Linked DNA regions of Homo sapiens: all the other regions are linked to region 4. The links are contacts of gene promoters, found by promoter capture Hi-C in human tissues and cell types (Jung and others, 2019). All regions are on one chromosome and are shown on one strand. The core of a region is centred on a gene start or on the middle of the fragment in contact, and the rest is flanking DNA. Distances in the headings are between cores, read along the strand shown.

What was found. The method cuts DNA at HindIII sites, captures the fragments that hold promoters and counts their contacts. A contact is called where the count stands out against the background at its distance.
Region 1: a contact is called between a fragment that was not itself captured here and the fragment with the promoter of KDM2A in region 4, in 1 of the 25 tissues and cell types used here (IMR-90 fibroblasts).
Region 2: a contact is called between a fragment that was not itself captured here and the fragment with the promoter of KDM2A in region 4, in 1 of the 25 tissues and cell types used here (dorsolateral prefrontal cortex).
Region 3: a fragment that was not itself captured here is called in contact with the fragment with the promoter of KDM2A in region 4 in 4 of the 25 tissues and cell types used here (IMR-90 fibroblasts, dorsolateral prefrontal cortex, hippocampus and 1 more).

The regions. Positions count from the first base shown.
Region 1 is chr11:66,929,430-66,932,129 of GRCh38, forward strand. All of the region lies in intron 3 of PC (pyruvate carboxylase), which reads right to left. Among named protein-coding and RNA genes, the nearest start is that of MIR3163, 3.7 kb to the right of the region's middle. The HindIII fragment of the contact is 5,380 bases long and covers 1-2,700 here.
Region 2 is chr11:66,947,469-66,950,168 of GRCh38, forward strand. The region is part of intron 3 of PC (pyruvate carboxylase); the gene reads right to left. Among named protein-coding and RNA genes, the nearest start is that of PC, 9.6 kb to the right of the region's middle. The HindIII fragment of the contact is 7,176 bases long and covers 1-2,700 here.
Region 3 is chr11:67,250,690-67,253,389 of GRCh38, forward strand. KDM2A (lysine demethylase 2A) reads left to right here. Exons shown (of 21, transcript NM_012308.3): 17 at 1-109; 18 at 2,005-2,168. Among named protein-coding and RNA genes, the nearest start is that of GRK2, 14 kb to the right of the region's middle. The HindIII fragment of the contact is 4,594 bases long and covers 1-2,700 here.
Region 4 is chr11:67,117,939-67,120,638 of GRCh38, forward strand. KDM2A (lysine demethylase 2A) reads left to right here and starts at 1,325. Exons shown (of 21, transcript NM_012308.3): 1 at 1,325-2,111. It overlaps LOC107984341 (a long non-coding RNA gene), which reads right to left and starts at 410. Exons shown (of 2, transcript NR_160735.1): 1 at 1-410. RefSeq lists silencers at 232-281, 422-701, 882-1,321, 1,462-1,531, 1,712-1,851 and 1 more and an enhancer at 762-811. The HindIII fragment of the contact is 11,710 bases long and covers 1-2,700 here.

The DNA.
Region 1 (2,700 bases), core at 179-2,678, 190 kb before region 4:
AATCTCAGCTCACTGCAACTTCTCTCTCCCAGGTTCAAGCAATTCTCTTGCCTCAGCCTCCCAAGTAGCTGGGACCACAGGTGTATGCCACCATGCCCGGCTAATTTTTGTATTTTTAGTAGAGACAAGGTTTCACCATGTTGACCAGGGTGGTCTCGAACTCCTGAACTCAAGTGACCCACCCACCTCGGCCTCCCAAAGTGCTGGGATTACAGGTGTGAGCCACGGTGCCTGGCCTTCTTTTTATTTTTTACATATTTTTTTGAAACAGAGATGGAGGTCTCACTATGTTGCCCAGGCTGGTTTCAAACTCCTGGGCTCAAGTGATCTTTCCACCTTGTCCTCCCAAAGTGTTAGGAATACAGGCATGAGCCACCACGCCTGGCCAGATTAAATTTTGTCTTAAAAGCATAGGCAAGCTGGCAAGAAAATAAGGAACATTCAGGCTAAAACCCTAAGGAGGAGAAACAGGGAGGTAAGTTAACACTGAAGCTTTTATCTAGATGGCATTTGCAGAACTAGGCAAACCTGAGCTTCAGTTTTCAAAGCCTCAAAAGGTCACAGAAGCACGGCCCAGAGCCCAGCCACGGTGGGAAATCTAAAGAGATCTTACCCCCAGTGAAGTTGGGACTTCCAAAGGATACTCCCTTAACGTAACAGTGAACCACCAAGAAACTTGATGTACCCTTCCCTGTCCCCAAGAGCTACCTGCAAGAAAAATCAACTGTCTAAATCCTTGGCAGGTAGAAAAACAAAAGCAGGTAGAAAAACAAAAAACTCCCCCCAAGAAGCTGCAATCACAAAACAGCCCTCACACAGACTTGCAGTCCAAAGTTGTACTACCTGGGCGATCAGAAAATACTCAGTGCTCCTACTGATGGCAGGAGAAGGGCAAATTAGTTTTCAAAACCTCAAATCTTTGGTTTCGGATAACCTAGAAGAGTTAGACATGCCAGCAACTCCACTCCTAGTTTATACCCCACAGAAATTCTTGCTCATGTGTTCCAGGAGCCATATGTAAGAATGTTCCTGCTGGACGTGGTGGCTCATGCCTGTAATCCCAGCACTTTGGGAGCCTGAGGCAGGCGGATCACCTGAGTTCAGGAGTTCAAGACCAGCCTGGCCAACATGGCGAAACCCTGTCTCTATTAAAGATACAAAAATTGGTTGGGCATGGTGGCACACCCCTGTAATCCCAGCTACTTGGGAGGTTGAGACAGGAGAATCATTTGAACTCGGGAGTCAGAGGTTGTAGTGAGCCAAGATCACACCACTGCACTTCAGCCTGGGCGACAGAGCAAGACTCTGTCTTAAAAAAAAAAAAAAAAAAAAAAAAGTTCCCAGCAGGGTTATTCCTGAGAGAGGAAAAAAAACAAAAGGCAGACCAAGGCCTTCTTGGCAACAGGGCAACAGAAAGGATCAACACACTGTGGATATTCATTCAATGGAAAGCTCTACGGCAGTGAACATGAACAGAGCCATGTGCATCCACATGGACGAATCACAAATGTAATGCTGAGCAAGTCACAGAAATCTACTGTAGGATTCCATGTCCAGGTGTTCAAAACCAGGCAAAATTCAACAATAAGTTATTCAGAGGTTGGCTATCGGTGGGAAAACTAACAAGAACAAGAGAATAAATATCACAAAATTCAGAATAGCTGGGGTGCCAGGTGTGGTGGCTTACATCTGTCATCCCAGCACTTTGGGAGGCTGAGGTGGGCGGATCACCTGAGGTCAGGGGTTCAAGACCAGCCTGGCCAACATGGTGAAACTTCGTCTCTACTAAAAATACAAAAATTAGCCGGGCATGGTGGCACACACCTGTAGTCCCAGCTACTCAGGAGGCTGAGGCAGGAGAATCACTTGAACCCAGGAGGCAGGGGTTGCAGTGGGCCGAGATGGCACCACTGCACTCCACCCTGGACAGCAGAGTGGCAAGATTCCATCTCAAGAAAAAAAAAAAAAAAAAAAAAAGGAATAGCTGAGGGAAGGGACTTCAACCGGGGAGGGAACATAGGGGGCTTATATGGTCCTAACCTTAACCTAGGGATGGGAACATAGATGTTCATTTTACTATTTTGTTTTAACATACTCATATGTTTTAAACATGTCTTCTGTTAAGTGTGGGATTTTGCAATAAACAAATGGCAAAATGAAGAAAAAAAAACATGCAATGGCACACAGAGTACTGCAGACTTTTTATTTGTGCTGACATCGGACGATTTCCAAGATACACTGATAAATGAAAAGGGCATGGAGCAGAAAGGGCACAGGAGAAACAAACAATAGATATATGTTTCTGTAGCCGGGCGCAGTGGCTCACGCCTGTAATCCCAGCACTTTGGGAGGCCAAGGCAGGTGGATCACAAGATCAGGAGATAGAGACCATCCTGGCTAACACGGTGAAACCCCATCTCTACTAAAAATACAAAAAACATTAGCCGGGCATAGTGGCAGTTGCCTGTAGTCCCAGCTACTCAGGAGGCTGAGGCAGGAGAATGGCGTGAACCCGGGAGGCGGAGCTTGCAGTGAGACAAGATCACGCCACTGCACTCCAGCCTGGGCGACAGAGCGAGACTCTGTCTCAAAAAAAAAAAAAAAAGAAAAAGAAAAAGAAAAAAGGAAATATGTTTCTATTTCAAAGGGCAGACCACCTCCAAGAGGACAGACAAGATAATTTAACCGGAAGTGGCCTCC
Region 2 (2,700 bases), core at 174-2,673, 170 kb before region 4:
CCCAGCTACTCGGGAGGTTGAGGCGGAGCTTGCAGTGAGCCGAGATCGTGCCACTGCACTCCAGCCTGTGCGACAGAGCAAGACTCAGTCTCAAAAAAAAAAAAAGAACTGACCAGGAACAGTGGCTCATGCCTGTAACCCCAGCACTTTGGGAGGCCAAGGTGGAAAGTGGGAAGGACTGCTTGAGTTCAGGAGTTCAAGACAAGCCTAAGGGCCAGGTGCGGTAGCTCACGCAGGTAATCCCAACACTTTTCGAGGCTGAGGTGGGGTGGATCATTTGAGGTCAGGAGTCGAGACCAGCCTGGCCAACATGGTGAAACCCCCTCTCTACTAAAAATACAAAAATTAGCTGGGCGTGGTGGTGGGCGCCTCTAGTCCCAGCTACTTGGGAGGCTAAGGCAGAAGAATCGCTTGAACCCGGGAGGCAGAGGTTGCAGTGAGCCGAGATCATGCCACTGCACTCCAGCCTGGGCGACAGAGTGAGATTCCGTCTCAAAAAAAAAAAAAAAGCCTAAGCAACATACCGAGATCTCATCTCTACTAAAGATAGATAGATAGATAGATAGATAGATAGATAGATAGATAGATAGATAGATATGCCAGGCGTAGTGGCACACACCTGTAGTTCCAGCTACTCAGTGAGATGGGAGATCACTTGAGCCCAGAAGATCAAGGCTGCAGTGAGCTATGATCACGCCGCTATATTCCAGCTTGGGTGACAGAGCAAGACTCTGTCTTAAAAAAAAAAAAAAGAAGGAAATGAACTATCAATACAAGCAACAACATGGACATATCTCAACATAATTATGCTGAGTAAAAGAAGGCAGAGAAAAAAGAATATATACTGTATGAGTCAATTTATGTGAAATTCCAGAAAATGGAAACTAACCTATAGTAACAGAAAGCAGTTCCATGGTTTCCTGAAGAGTGAGGAGGCAGAGGGAGGAATTCCAAAGGTGATGAATGTGTTCACTCTCTGGACTGCAGTGATGGTTTCACAAGGGTACACATATGTTAAAACTTACTAAACTGTATACTTTAAATATGTGCAACTTATTATATCTCAGTAATACTCCAATAAAGCTATTGTAAAAACTAAAATGTATCACGCCTGTAATCCCAGCACTTTGGGAGGCCAAGGCGGGCTGATTGCTTGAGCTCAGGAGTTCGAGATGAGCCTGGGCAATGTGGTGAAACCCCGTCTCCACAAAAAGTACAAAAATTAGCCGGGTGTGGTGGCTTGAACCTGTAGTCCCAGCTACTCAGGAGTCTGAAAAGGGAAGATCACCTGAGCCTAGGAGGTAGAGGTTGCAGTGAGCTGAGACTGTGCCACTGTACTCCAGCCTGAGTGACAGAATCAGACCGTCTCAAAATAAACAAAAATAAACAAACAAAACATAAAACGGTATAGGAAAGTTTAAGAAAAGTGTAATATTCAGCTTCATTTATTAGATTTACAAGAGTCATTTAGGTATTAGAGGGTTTTTTTAATCAGAAAAATGGAAGAATTATTATTATTATTTATTATTATTATTATTTTTTTGAGATGGAGTCTTGCTGTGTCGCCAGGCTGGAGTGCAGTGGCATAATCTCAGCTCACTGCAACCTCCGCCTCCCGGGTTCAAGCGATTCTCCTGCCTCAGCCTCCCAAGTAGCTGGGATTACAGGCGCGTGACCACCACACCCAGCTAATTTTTGTATTTTTAGTAGCGACAGGGTTTCACCATGTTGGCCAGGATGGTCTCAATCTCTTGACCTCGTGATCTGCCCGCCTTGGCCTCCCAAAGTGCTAGGATTACAGGCGTGAGCCACCCACCATGCCCGGCCAGAAGAATTATTAAAATAGTTAACTGAAGTTGAATATGATTTATAAGTTCAATTGAAACATTTCAGAAGTTTCATCAAATTTGCAAATGGGACCAAGCATTAATCAAAAAGCCCCCTAAGGCCGGGGCGGCGGCTCACGCCTGTAATCCCAGCACTTTGGGAGGCCGAGGCGGGCAGATCACTTGAGTCAGGAGTTCGAGACCAGCCTGACCAACATGAAGAAACCCCGCCTCTACTAAAAATACAAATTAGCCAGCATGGTGGCGGGCGCCTGTAATCCCAGCTACTCAGGAGGCTGAGGCAGAAGAATCGCTTGAACCAGGAGGCGGAGGTTGCAGTGAGCCGAGATCGCGACAGAGCGAGACTCCATCGCAAAAAAAATAAATAAATAAAAGCCCCCTGAAAGTGACTGTTAAAATGTCCTAGAATCGTAAATAGATCAGAAAGATTTATAGGCTACACTTATAAGCTAAACTTAAAAGACTGGCCCTTAAAATAACTAGGTTTCTGAATTCATAATTTTAACAAATTGAAAATCAATTGTTTTCGACCAAAGTAATTTCTGAATAATCTTTGCATTACATAAAAATCCAGGGGTAGGAGTGGGTGTGGCATCCAAACCTCCCTCAGACATGCCACGCACCAGTCACCCGAAACTCACCAAGTCGCTTAGTCTCTAGTCTCTCTGAACCTCTGGTTCCTCACACATTGCAAGAGACAAATATTTTCCAGAATAAATAATATACTTATTATTAATGATTTAATATTAATACATTTCACATTGATACACAGCATGTACATGAGAAGAGGCTCCAAAGCAGCATAAAGTGATGTGCAAACGTAATAAATGGGCAGCATGTGTCACTTCATAGT
Region 3 (2,700 bases), core at 162-2,661, 130 kb after region 4:
ATGGAGACGAAAGCTGGATGCAGCGGGAGGTCTGGATGTCTGTCTTCCGCTACCTCAGCCGCAGAGAACTTTGTGAATGTATGCGAGTGTGCAAGACGTGGTATAAATGGTGAGCAGGGATTCAGGGGGTCAGGAATTAGGGGTATGGGAGTAGGTGGCAGGTTTTCCATATGAGAACAGCATGCACCTTGGCATCTGAAAGCCTGTGGGGTCTTATGAGGAGTGAATTGACCCTTTTTCCCAAACTTTGGGTCCTGTTTAAAGATGTAGCCTGTTGTACCCGCAGATGTCATTAGGGAACTGGCCATTTGCCTCCTGGCCCTGCTCTATACTTTCCCATGTCTCATTGTTATGGGGAGGGAGACTGATTTGCGGGATAGATTTGTAGTCTGTGATAAAACTTGAGAGTCTTGCGGGCTGAAAATTTCCTCCTCAAGTCAGCTGAACTCATCACATGTTGGTTGAGAGCCTATGATGTTCTAGTCACTCTTCTGGTGCTGATAACACAGATAACCTCACTTAAGCCCCTGACTCAATTACCTCTCCATTCAGTGAGAGAAGTGGGCATGCTTTTCAAGATGAATTTGAAGGTGCTTAACATTTTTCTTCAGTTTTAATGCTCATCCCCCCAAACCTGGATCAGAATTCCCTCTTCCAGCAAGCAGAGTCCAGTTTTGAAGCTTCCTTAATGAGAGCTACCATTTCTTCTTAAGTTGGACAGACACTTGGGGGAAAAAATTGCTAGTGATGATGAACAAGGAGCTTCCCATTGGGCATTGTTGGTTTTTCCTTAAACTCTGGTATATATTTACTCTAGGATATATCCTTTTTATCTGGGTCACACACATCCTATTACAGTAGTGTGGTGTCCTGACCAATGGCATTCACTCAGGAACTTTTTAGAAATGTCAACTGTCAGGACCCTCATAGGCCTCTTAAATCAGAACCTCTTGGGTGGGCCCAGCAGTCTGCTTTAACAAGCGCTCCTCCAGGGGACTCTGATGCATGCTCGAGTTTAGAGCAGCAAAATCTGCTGTATTGTCAGCAGCTTGCTTCTGCCATAGAAGCTTCATGTGCCACTGGTAAAATTGTTTCAGTCTCTAAATAGACCCTATTCTTTGCAAACATGAGTTTATTTCCCAAATCTGAATTAATGTATAGTGTATCTAAATTCTCCTTAATATTTCTCTGTCTAGGGCTAATAGGACTGCTTGGCTCTACCTCTTGGTTTTCAGGGCAAGGCACATCAGATTCCCGTTATGTGCTGTCTCTCTTCCCCTGCCAACCAGGCTGGGGGGCAGGGGCTATAAAATATTAAATTGAAGCCAGCATGTTGTGGTTTGTGGCCTGTAGATTTGTAGACTGCAGTGGAAAGCCAGGCCTATCCCTTTCAGTTCTGGTCTGGCCTGGCTAGAAAATGTCAGGATAGCACTGAGGCAGAACTTGAGGGTGAGAGAGGACTCTGTAAGCCTGATAAAGAGCCTCTTTTGACCTGATACAGTAATGGGCTGAAGGCAGGGTGAATTGTGGATGTGCTGAGTAGCACCCTGCATTTCAGGCAGCTGCGAGTGATTGACAAGGGAGGGAACGGAGCAGGCCTTCTTAGCTTTAGACAGTAAGAAGTCTAGAAACTTCAAGAGGCTCCCTTATATACACTTCAGCAGGAACCATGCCATTTTAATACAGATGAAGGGGCTATAGACTGTTGCTTGCTATGGGTCCCTAACAACTGTTGTGTTCTCAAACACTCCAGAATAAATCAGGGTAAAGTGGTCAAGTTATATACTATCAACATGTAGGTTTGCAAAGCGTCTAGTTGTTGTAGAGTTCAAGGCAATTTTTTGCCTATTCTGTGAGGCAAAAAATGATAAGGTGTGATCCCTGTACACTTGTAGAAGAACGAGCCTCCAGGTACTCTGCTTTTCCCAGAAGCCATAAGCAGCCTGTGATGGGAGCTCCACTGATCAAGTTAATGAAGGCGAGTTCTCTTCCCTTCTATCACAGGTGCTGCGACAAGAGACTTTGGACAAAAATTGACTTGAGTAGGTGTAAGGCCATTGTGCCCCAGGCCCTCAGTGGCATCATCAAGAGGCAGCCAGTCAGCCTTGACCTCAGTTGGACCAACATCTCTAAAAAGCAACTGACATGGCTCGTCAATAGGCTGCCAGGTAAGTGAGCAGCCCTGCCGCTGTCTTTCCAGGGGCCCAGAAGAAGCGGGCAAGAAAAGTTGCATTATTGGCAGTGCTTCTTAGCATCACTGGAGGGCAGTGTAGGGCAGCAGTCCCATGCCATTGTTGCTTAGCAAGAGGTTTACCCAGGGCCATCTTAAGTGTCAGTCTCCCAGGCAGCACTCTGGACTGGCAGGCCAATCACTGCAATGGACAGCAAAGAGAACGGAATCAGTGTTGCTGCCAGCCCTGCAGTTCTCCTCAGCATAACCACTAAAGAGGAAATTTGAGTCAGATGTTACTTTGGTCAGCTCCTTATAAGCCCTTGTTCTCTTCAGCATTTTGAGCTCTTAGAAAGACAGGAAGTCACTCCTTCTTGTATTGCTCTGGTGGGAACTAAGCAATCAATTTACCACTAAAGCTAGAAGATGTAGTATAGGATACCATGGAAATCTTTGAGCTGGATGACTAAAAGATTAGGCATAGTCCTTCTCTCCTATTAGACTGGAAGTTTGTTCACTTTGCTCAGATC
Region 4 (2,700 bases), core at 75-2,574:
TCGGGCGGCTGCTGCCCCGTCGCTGACCCCCGCGCGAAGCTGCGCGCACCAACAGGAGACATCTTCCCGGCCGGGCCTCCCGCGCCCGCCACGGCCCAGGGCGGCAGGGTCGGGCCGGGGGCCGGGGGCGGCCCGCGCACCCCTCCGTGGGGGGCGCCCCGACTCGCCGGGGGCGGGGTCACGTCCCACCCGGGCCGCCGGGGGCACCGGCGCGGCGGAAAGCTGAGCGTGGCCGAGGAGCGGGGGCTTCCTGGGCCACCTCGCCGGGCGCCTCCGGCCGGCGGTGGGCGCGCCGGCCGCCACCGCCCCCGGGCCGTCGCGGAGACCGCTTCTGCGCCTGGTACCTGTGGACGCCCTTGTTAAGCGCCTGCAGCACCCCCGGGGAGCCGAGCCCAGGACAGACATGCTACTCCTGTTTCCTGCCCCTTCGGAGCGACGAGCAGTGGGTGAGGCGGGGCCAGGCCGCTGCACCGAGGAGCCCCCGGGCCCAGGGCAGACGGGCCCCGTGGCGGCGGCGCCGGGGCCTGCCCGGGAATGGCGGGCAAGCCGGCCTCGGCCCACCGGCCGGCACGCGAAGGGAGGGCAGCCGGCGGCCATGCGCCCCTTCCCTGCGCCCTCTCGCCCTGGGCAGGCCTGAGCCGGGAGCCCAGGTCCCGCGGGCCCAGCCCGGCGGCTTGACCCCGGGAGACCCTGCTTTGAGGCGGGTATCGGTTGCCCTGGCCCAGGCCTCCCGGCCCTCAGGTTGTGTGACTGTGACGGGCAGCCTGGGGCCAAAGGCGGTTGAAGGGGAAGGGGACGCAGATCTCCCACTGCTTGGGGGGGGTGATGTGCTTTGTGGGGGGTCGGGGGTCACCACCCTCCCAGGGGGGTGGGGGAGGGCGGCCAGCACAGCTGGCCGCGAGGGGCGGGGTCGCAGAGGCGAAGTGTGTGTGAGGGTGTGTGGGGGGAGGGCGCGCGGAGGAGGATCGGTGCCCTGCGCGCAGGCGCGAGCAGCCAGCCAGGCCCGAGCCCTGGAAGAACGCCGACGGGGAGCGGGGGCGGCGGGCTGGCGGGAGGGAGGGAGGGCGGGCGGCCTGACGCGAGGGGGCGCAGGGAGCCGCGTCGGCGTCGCGGGGCGCGGGCGATTCGAGGCCGACGCATCCGCGCGTGCGCGCGCCGGCGGTGTGTCCGCGTTAGAGGGGAGTGACGCGTGCGCGTTCACGCGCGCCCGGGAGAGCGGTAAGAAGCGCAGGGAGGCCTGAAGGGGGTGGGGGGGTGGAGAGGCGAGCTGGAGGAGGGGTGGGGAGGTGGCGCCTGCGCAGTGCGCCTCGGAGGAGCTGTGTGTATGTGAGAGTCTGACGGGTTCAAAATGGCGGCGGCTGCTTCAGCGGCTCCTCCTGTGTGAGGGAAACAACACCCCTCCCCGGCAGCGGCGGCGGCGGCGGCGGCTCTCGGAGCACCTTCCCAGCGGCTGGGCCCGTGGCCGCTCTGTCTTTCCTGGGCAGGGGACGCTCCGGGAGGAGGGGCAACGCCAGGGGGCCCATCCCCCGGAATCCCTCTTCTGCGACTGGGGAGTAGCCGGGGGGCTCGTCCCGCAGCGCGGAGCCAGACCTGAGGGGGAGACGCGAGGGGAGCCAGGGCCCCCATCCCGGCGCGCCGCGCCGCTCCCGCCCTGTCCGCCCCCCGGGGCCGGGGCCCGCGTTCCGGGGGGCCGGGGCGGCGCGGGGAGCCTCGGGCCGGCCGGTCTCAGCTGATCGGCCGCTGCTCCCGCAGGCGACCAGCCCCTGCTGGCCGAGGGCACGGCGAGGAGGGCGCTCCCTGCGGCCGGGGCCGGCCCGGGGCTCGGGCCCGGGCTGCTGACCGCTGGCCTGGGGGAGGCGGGGGCGCCCCGGGCTCGGCGCCGAGGGGTCGCGCTCCTCTCTCCTGACGCCTCCGACTCCCGGTCTCCAAAGCCAGAAGAGAAGGTTTGATTCAGCAACTGTTTGCTCCCTTTTCCTGGTCGCTCTGACCCTCTCTGGATACTGGGTTGATCCACGGAAAAACCGAAGACGACGTTTGGGATTTAATTATTCCTCTCAGCTTTGGAATCTTTTACTTCTCACTTGGACAAGAACTCAAGAGCAGAATCTCCGGTGAGTTTCCCCCTCCCCCCCCTCATTTGGAAGTTTGGTTGACTGTGTTATCCAAAGACTGAATGCAAAGTTTCTATCTCTTTTTCCGATGGGTGAACCATTGAAACGCCTTTTCCTGGGGGAGCCCAGCGAGATTCGCCCTTTTTCCTCTCCGGCCCTGGCTGCTCCATGCCCAGGCGGTCGTCGCCCAGGGGGTGCAAGCACGGTTTCCCTCCCGACTTCGGGCCAGGGCTTCCTCCGGGAGGGCTCTGCCTCTAACTGCTCTGCAAACTGTGTCATCGGGTCCTCTGGTCTCGTAGCAGTTTTGAAAGGATGCTGTTAACGTGGCTGTAATGTAGTGACAAAAACGGGGGGAACCTGTGTTCTCAATGGAAGCCATTATCCACGAGAATATTTAGAAAAAAGAAAACCCTTTCTTGGTATTACGGATTGACCGTCGCGCCGGCCGGTCTTTTATTTAATTTTTGGACAAGATGTATTTTCCTTGTATCCTTAGATGCAATCGTTTATTTTATTACTTTATCCAAAAAGATCAGATGGAATTTTGGTCCTTGATTTGCACCTCTGAAATTTGTTTCAGAGTTGTGCA